2 separate regions of the Homo sapiens genome follow, and region 1 is linked to region 2. The links are contacts of gene promoters, found by promoter capture Hi-C in blood cells and fetal thymus (Javierre and others, 2016). All regions are on one chromosome and are shown on one strand. The core of a region is centred on a gene start or on the middle of the fragment in contact, and the rest is flanking DNA. Distances in the headings are between cores, read along the strand shown. Region 1 holds the start of PPM1F-AS1 (PPM1F antisense RNA 1). Region 2 has its middle 72 kb from the start of IGLL5.

Region 1 (4,240 bases), core at 1,119-3,618, 1.0 Mb before region 2:
CACATGTAGTCCCAGCTACTTGGGAGGCTGAGGCAGGAAAATTGCTTGAATCCGGGAGGCAGAGGTTGCAGTGAGCCAAGATTGAGCCACTACACTCCAGCCTGGACAACAGAGCGAAACTCAGTCGCAAATGAACAACACCAAACCAAAAAAAATTAGCTGTGTGTGGTGGTATATCTACTCCCAGCTATTCGGGAGGCTGGGGCAGGAGGATCCCTTGAGCCAAGGACGTCGAGGTTACGGCGATCTCCGATTACACCACTGCATTCCAGTCTGGGTGACAGAGGGAGACCTGGTCTCTTAAAACAGAAAACTAAAAAATGGATTTTAATAGAGTTTATAAGCATGTAAAATGCTTCTGTCATGATACTAAGTGAAAAAAGAAGGAAAATTACATATGCAGTTTAACTACAAGTCCATGAAAAACCACCAGGGCCAGAAAAAAAAAAAGGCGGGAACAGCACACAACCAAGGTGTCAGAGTGGGCCTGCACGTGGCAGTTCCACGGACAGCTTTTTCCTGAAGTACACTTTCTTAATACTTCCCCAGTTTTTCATTACAAGTGTTAGTCTCGTGTGACAGTGGCTTTAAAGCATGTCCACAAATTCTTTGACTTCCCCTTTTGCGAGGTGGAGCTCACTTCCCACTGCTGAGTGTGGGAGCTGGCTGCTTCTGATGAAGAGTGGCAGTGACTGCGTGTGCTTCAGGTGTTACGAAACAAAGAGGCCCTGCGCCTCCCGCCTTGTGTATTCTCACTCTCTTCCTCCCTCCCTCTCATCGCTCAATCTGAGCTGTGAGGATGCTCAAGCAGCGCCACGGAGAGTCCACATGGGACGGGACCAGGGCCTCCTGTCAGTGGCCGTGTGTTGAAACCACCGTGGAAGCAGGCCCTCCAGCCCAGCCAGCAACCATGTCACCACAACCCAGTAAGAGACCCTGGACCAGAACCAGCTAAGCTGCTCCCAGATTCCAGACCCACAGAAACTGGGAGAATAAATGTCTGTTGTTTTAAGCCACTACATTTGGGGCAATTTGTTATGTAGCAACAAATAATATAAGCCACAATACTCATTTGAAAAGAAAAAATACCCAAATCCTACCTAAGCTTGGCTTCTCAAGAAAAGATCAACCAGTAACAGGCCCAAAGGAAACCATGGGGGCTCTGGCTTCAGGGACTCATGTCACTTCAATGCACAAACTCTCCTGGAACTCCTGCCAGCCCAGGTGCATGTGGCAAGCATGGTGAATCAGGGCCAGTCAGCCGAGGGCAGGAGTTGAGTGTCACAGGCCACACCCAAAGGACATGGGGAACTGAGAGGAGGAAAGAGCTCCTGCCTAAAGGCGGAGGCTGTGGAAGAAAAGGAGAAGGGCTGAGGCCAGAGGGGGCCACCGAGGAAGAACCATGAACGCGAGGGCTTATGCACGCAGGAGGTCACAGAAAGACAGGTTCTTGGGAATCCATGCATCAAGGCAGGGGTGGGGGCATCCAGAGCCAGCTGCTGCCGCCATGGCCAACACAGGGGCCTATTCAAGCATTTGGCAAGAACTGGGGACTGGCAAGGCTATGGGTGAAGGAGGGGCCTGAGAACTCATTCAGGCAGGCCCAGCTCAGGGAAGGCAGCTCCACACAAGTTTGGCCAGTGGATCCCCTGCAAACCAGCAGGAAACCCCCCTCGTCCTGCCAGTCCTTGTAGCGCTGCCTCCTCTTCCTCTCGTCTGAGGGCCACTGTGCCCAGAAAACTGCCCCTAAATGCCATGGACTCCTCCTCACTCCCTCTGGAAACTGTGGGCTCCTGGTGCTTACCAGGCCTGAGCTCGGGCTGGGGGAGACTCCGGCCGCCGCTGTGGCTCACGGTCTCGCCCCGGGTGCTACTGCTATTTCCAACAGCCGCTTAGCCTAGACTCTGCTCAGGAAAGGCCAGCGGCTGAGGCAGTGCTGCCCAGCCCACGGACTCCCCATGCCAAGGGCTGCAGCCCCGCAACCTCGCTTCTGGATTCTTCGCTGATCCAGTCACCGGGGAGGGGCTGACTGGCAGCCACACAGAGGTTTCAGCCACTCGCTGCTCTTCAGTGGCAATTCTTATAATACAATCCCCACTCTGACGCAATTTTGTAAGAATGGCTTGGAGTCCAAAAACTTGACTACATTCTACTTCCGTGACAGGGAGAGCATGATCAAGGCCGCTAGGCAGGCCTGCATGCGAGGCACTCTGACAGACGGGGAAGCAAGGGCAGGCGAGACTTCCTTCTAGCTGCGCCCTCCCTCCTTCCCAGGCCTGCAGGAGCCCCGAGCGTAGGACTGGGCTGGTGCCGGCGCAGCAACGCTCCTTCTCACCGGCAGGTGGCGCTGTCTCCCGCGTGGACGGACAGAGACCCATCAGGCGGGGAGGGCCTGGGCGGTGGCGGCGCCCCCTTGGTGGGGCCGCAGAGCGGAGGAGCAGCAGCTGCCACCGGCCGGAAGCCTGCTGGCTCGGCCGAGAACAATGGCCGCCTGTCACTGTGGACAGCTGTCTCCCAGGCTAAGGCAAGGCTGCGCTCCCAGGGAATGCGGGCAGGGAGCCAGGGCGGAGGGCAGAGGACGAGAGCGAGGAGGAGAGCGCGGGCACCCACTGATGCTGGCGGCCTCGGGTATTCGCTTTCTCTCTCTTCTCCCACCTTGTTCCTTTTCCCCGGATGCACGCATGCACTAGTAATGCCGAATTTAGAACAACAGGGAAAGGAAAGGAAATGGCAAAGGAAGGGAAAGGAAATGGCCGACAGGAAATGGCAAGGAAGGGAAAATCCACTGCAACTCTGCTGCCTGCTGGCCTGTCCAGGGACAACTATTCAGCTGGGTGGGACGTTGCTACCCCCTTGTGGCACCCCTGCTGCAGCCTGCGATTCTTACGCCCTGTATTTCTGGTCTAACATCAACCAACACTTTGGCGAAATATAATAAAATGAAATTACTAGGAGAATGAAAGAAAGTCACATGAAATAAAAGCCCTGCTTTTTAATGATTATATCCTCTGTGAAATGGATCTGCAGCCCTCTCCATTTCTGGGTTCCCCTGGCCACACCATGCTTATGGCTGTCCCAGGAGCAGGCTGACAGACAAGCTTCCACCAGCATCTAACCATGGGGCTCATGGACACCGTAGAGCGTCTCCACCCAACAGAATCCTGACTTGGGGGCAGCTGAGGCAGGGGGCCCGAGCGTTGAGGGGACCACGCTGCTGCCCCGAGACCTGCTGGCATGCCACCTGGCCAACCCTGACTTCGCCTGCCCGGGCGCATGTTAACTGAGTTACAACACTGAGGGCACTTGAACCTGGCTGCATGACCAGAGATCGATCACCTGTGAGATCCTCTGTGAAACGGGATAAGCATCTTTAATTTCCTGGGCTGTTCTGGAACTTCAGTCAGACAGGACACAGGAGGGTGTCTGCACCACCCACCCCTGCCTCGTGGGCTGACTGGGAACTATATGACCTGTGGAGGGCTGTGACCGCCACCCTCCACCTCACTGGGGCCGCAAGCCTTCTCTGCTCCTTGATTCTGCTGCCGTTGTGAGCGAGGGCCCCAGCACCCTTAGGGACCCCAATCAATGGGCTTCCCACAATGTCGTCACCCTTTGTTGCCTGCTAAGCAGCCCTGGGGCCACCTCAGAAGAAACAGAACTCACAGGTCACAGGGGCCTTTTCCTCCTCGTCATCGTCCTCCTCCTCTTCTTCTTCCTCCCTGGGCAACTTCCTGAATTCGGAAAGGTCTGTCTGTAGCAGCTGTGAAACTGCTTCGTGGGCCAGAGCAGCAGCAAGTGGTGGCGGGGCCTTCCTAGGGATGAGGAGGGGGAAGTGAGGGGCAGCCCCCAGCAGGAGACCACACCTAGCCCCCCTTCCCCAACTGTCAGCCCACATGCTGAGGGGTCACGGCCAGCAGGGCGGCCCCTGTCCTCAGGGAGCTGGGACAGGAAGGTCACAGGACAGCAAAGGCAGACGCACAACCATCTGGTGGGGAGCTGGACCATACTTGAGCCTGCGGCTAGTTGGGAGGGGGCTGTTGATGGGCAAGTAAACTGCCTGACATCCATGCTGATGATGGCTCCTGGCCACAGGAGGGCAGAGGAATCACCCATGCCAGCTGGGGACCCTGGGGGGTGGGGAGTGTTCTGGGTTGAATTGTGTCCCCCCTAAATTCATACACTGAGGCCCTAACCCCCAGTACCTCAGAATGGAGCTCATTTGGAAACAGGGTCATTACAG
Region 2 (4,398 bases), core at 643-3,142:
TTCAGGCATTCATCTTGCAGAATGCAAACAGTCAGCTGCCACAGGGAACTGCAGAAGGCAAGCGTTGTGACCAAACCATAAATGCTGGTCAGCCCCATCTAAATCAGGTTAAAATGGGGATAGATATCAGCCAGTGAGAACACAGGCAGCTTTCTTTGGAATGGCCACTTCGGGGGTGGTGGGTGAGCAAAGAATGGATGCAGATGCTCTCTCCTCTCCAAGGAGCAATGTGGACTTCAAAGCCCACAAAGATTCGTGAGATTTATTCCTAGAATAAGTACCCTAGAGAAGCCCGCCCAGCAGAGTATAAAAGAAATCAAGAATTTCCGGTGGACCCAGAACGTGTCACAGCTTGGGGCCAAATAAATTACACTCCTGCAAATGCCTCGGGCCTAGCTCCAGTAAAAAGTGACAGGACAGCCATGTGTCCAAAAGCTAGTGCATTGCACAGCAAGGAGGAAACCAATTTCCTTTAGCCTTTGCTCCCCTAGAGACGTCATATGACCAGAGTGAGGTTGGACACTCAGCTCTCTATCTTTTCAAATAATTCCCCATCTCCAAGTTCATGGAAAGAGAGAAAACCATCATGTCACCATAGCGATGACTCCTCTAATGATGGTTCAGAGTGGAAAACTTCTGACTTCAAGGATGGCCTCATACAGGATGGACGTGAATGCTGGTCCTCAAAACCCCAATGTCACATTTTTAAAAATCTGACCATCCCTCAGTCAGTGTCAGGGGTTTTCATGTGGGAAACCTCAAAGAAGGTGAGAAGGCAGGGGAGGTGTAACCCACAGTAATTATTAATAAAACCAACATTCCAGGACAAACTACTGCTAAGGAGGTTGAATTTTTTTTCTAAATGATCCTTCACAAGTAAAATAAGGAACTGGAGTCCTTGGACTGATCGCTATATTATGCTAAATGGATGACAGAATACAGCTCAGGAGTCAAAGATCATAAGCTTCCAAGTGGCCACAGGGACAATAAGCCTTTCAGCCCTTGGGTAATAAAGTCAGACAATCTGGTCCAGCAGCCAGAAGATGGCTGAGCTGGAGGAACATCGATGATGGGACAGTCCCAGCGTCCGCCCTCTCTGCTGGAAGGACATTAGCTGCTGAGAATAACTGGATCCAAATTGTTAACGTGACCCCCCACTGCTCATGGGGATGAAGAAAAAGATCTGGGGTGATTGGAACCTTACAAAGCAGGGACACAGATGCTTTATGTCTTTCGAAGGTCTAGTTGTAAAAACAAGACCCGAAAGCAGCCTCTCGGTCTTTTCACTGCTGGCCAGCAAAACTGGGAGAGGACTATGTTGTGATGTCCCCAGGATATCCTTCATGATTGCCACCAAGATCTGCTGGGATAGGTGCCCAAGACCTGGAAGGAACACTAAACTAGAGACCCAGGGATGCACACACCTTGCATGTTCTCACAATGAGGCTAAACCAGACTCATCACCGAAGAAATGCCAGCCAACAGCCTGTGGACATGGATGCAGATTGACTATTCCAGCCCCTCAGTGAACAAGCTCCAAGTGTGTTTCCTTGTAAAGCAGTTATACAGGTCAAAAATCACTTCATCACAAATGAAATACGGTCAAACTACCACAAAACACAGGGCTAAAATATCTCATCACCGGAGGGTGCCAGAGACCACCAAATATAATCCAGATTCAAGGCAGTCCATGTGAAAATTGCCCACCAGGTGGCGGAAATGCAGGGAGACGGCCAGCATGTACAGATAATTTGTTTCCCGGGTCCACACATTATCTGATGAGAGTGAATCTGACCCTAGAAGAGAACTACACAACTACTTGGTTGCATTAGGGTTCAACAAGACTGTGCACGCTCCAAAAATTCTCAAAAAGGTCAAATCCAAGTAACAAGGGTTTTAGCCTATGAACCAAGGTGTGGCTAGAGAAAAGATTGTTTGAATTTGAAAAGAAGCTAGGAGGTTGACTCACTGGGGCATCTATCCTTGAGTCTTCCTGCAGTGGGAGGCAGAGTGAGCGGTCAGCTGGGCATCCACATCTAGAGTGTTGAAAACCTCCTGGGGGTGGAGACGGGGGACTTCCACTTCCAGAATGGGCAATTGTGTGTGTGTATAAAATATTTAAGATATATGTATTTATTTAAAGTCTCTAGAAATGGCCTTAGGGCATACAGCAAATAAAAAAACATTTAATTCAAGAACATCTATTAAAACCTGGCAAGAAATGGGAGGGTCTGTGGCATTTCAACCACGACCTGCTCCATTCCTCCCACTGCCAGCAAAATGTGACAGAAACTCCACTCCAGGTGGGTACAGCCAAGGACACAGCACTGTCTCCACCCAGCTCCCAGTCAAGGGCTATGGTATTTTCCCAAGAAGGAAAATCCATCAGCATTTTTCTTCCCACCCCAGCTACCTGTTGCAGAGACTAAATTCCAGGTGATTGTAGTAATCGGTTGAGGCTCTCTTCTTTTGCTCAGCCCCTACTTGTGGGACAAAAGCCCTGCCTTGGGTGCAACACACTGAGAATACTGGCACCATCAACCAGCTCATTTGTAAAGTAGAGGTTCCATGCTATGAGAAGCAAGCTGGGAATACAATAGACTCTCCAATAAGCACCCACCTCCTAAAGCAGGGGTGTCACTCAGAAAGTAGCTACCTACCACTGTCCCCACCCAGCCCCAGAGCCATAGCCAAAAGCTCCTGAAACATTTCCCCAAGAGGAAAGGCAGGACATAGAGAGCTCTAAAGCCCTTCCCGAATGAACTGACTTTATTTGCAAATGAGTACAAAGTTCAACATTAAGGGGACTTTCAAAACAATGAAGCTTGGGCAAAAAGCAATTGAGAGGAAACTGGTAAGTTCATTAGTGACATAAACTAGACCATAGGCCAGCTAGTTTATCAGAGAGAACCAGGAAAAGACATGGCTAAAAACAGACCTCTTGGGGTCAAAGCAAACCTCAAACACTGACCTCAAAAACTATCCCTGCAAATGAGCCTCAGTTTAATTGGATAAGTCATCTCAATAAAGGTGTTTTTTAAAGAAAAAAAACAGCAATAACAATTATACATTCTGGTCAACATGGAGTAACAGGAGCTGGATTTATTTTTAGGCCTGGAATAATTTTAAAAACAACACAAAATATTTAAGTCACTGGACATCAGGCAATGAAAGATAGTGGTTTATAAGAGATGAGAAATGAATAAGATGAGCCCCACGATTGCCCCAGATTACTGCATGGAGAGTTTCCAGTCTGAGGCTCAAGGAGGAGAGAACGTAACCACAGCCCACTGGCCTCCCCGAGTTGAAGAAACAGAGCTGCTTGGGATCCCAGGCCGCTGGAGTTCATAGGGCAGAGTACCAAAGAGGAGGGAGCTTAACAGAAAGAGAACTCTGCAAATACGAGAGTGTAAGTATTATACTGAGTAGTGATCAGTGTATGCATATGAGGAATGTACCTGAGGCCAAGAAAAAGACTACCCAAAAGCATTGAACAGAACAATCCCCAGAGAAAATTCAGGGCTGAAAATAATGCCTGACCTCATCAACAAGTACAGAAAATCTCATAATTCATTAAGCATCAGGTAGAGTACTCAGAGGAGTCTTCCTGATCTGTGGACAAAATTAACCATAGACTTAATGCTGTTGTGGTCTCATGTAAAAATGTTAAAAGAAAGCTGGGGATAGATTAAACTGTTTCAAAATAATTTAACTGTGTACCAGAACACAACTTAAGAATACAAAAATATCTAGCACCTGCAAAGATAAAATGCACAATGTCTAGCATTCAACTACAAATTAACATGCAGGCAAAGAAGTGGAAGAATATGATCCATAGTTAGGAAAATATCAGCCAGTCAAAGCTGATCCAAAATTGACATAGGTAATAAATAGATAAGGTCATTAAAGCAGTTATTATAATACTATTCCATATGTATAAGGAACTAGAGGAAGGATTAAACATTTTTGGCGAATGCACAGAAGGTTTTTTCTAAAACCAAATTAAACTTATAGAAAACAATGTGATGAAAAATACACTAGATGGAATTAATGACAGATTAGAAACTGCAGAAGAAAAGATTAGTGAACTTGAAGGCAGAGCAGTAGAAATTATACAAAATTATCAGAGGGTTAAAGGACTAAAAAAATAAAGAGAACATCAGTGACCTGTGAGATAAATGCCAGTGGTAAAATATATATGTGGTTAAAGTCTCTGAAAAAGAAGAGGGGATTTGAAAAAATAATGACAGAAAATTTTCTTAATGTGATGAAAACTGTATACCTACGGATTAAAAAAGTTCAACCAACCGTAATCACAAAAACATGAAGAAAACCATACCAAGTCACACTATGATCATCAAATTTCTTAAACCAACTCATCTAAGAGAAAATTTTAAG

The links. The method cuts DNA at HindIII sites, captures the fragments that hold promoters and counts their contacts. A CHiCAGO score of 5 or more calls a contact.
Region 1: the fragment with the promoter of PPM1F-AS1 here is called in contact with a fragment that was not itself captured in region 2 in 1 of 17 cell types (total B cells); the score reaches 5.8 in total B cells.

What each region holds. Positions count from the first base shown.
Region 1 is chr22:21,935,869-21,940,108 of GRCh38, forward strand. PPM1F-AS1 (PPM1F antisense RNA 1) reads left to right here and starts at 2,369. Exons shown (of 2, transcript NR_147620.1): 1 at 2,369-3,745. It overlaps PPM1F (protein phosphatase, Mg2+/Mn2+ dependent 1F), which reads right to left. Exons shown (of 8, transcript NM_014634.4): 3 at 3,664-3,812. RefSeq lists enhancers at 1,986-2,792, 2,793-3,600, 3,601-4,240 and a silencer at 2,344-2,503. The HindIII fragment of the contact is 1,993 bases long and covers 1,104-3,096 here.
Region 2 is chr22:22,957,696-22,962,093 of GRCh38, forward strand. No RefSeq gene overlaps it. Among named protein-coding and RNA genes, the nearest start is that of IGLL5, 72 kb to the left of the region's middle. The HindIII fragment of the contact is 1,860 bases long and covers 963-2,822 here.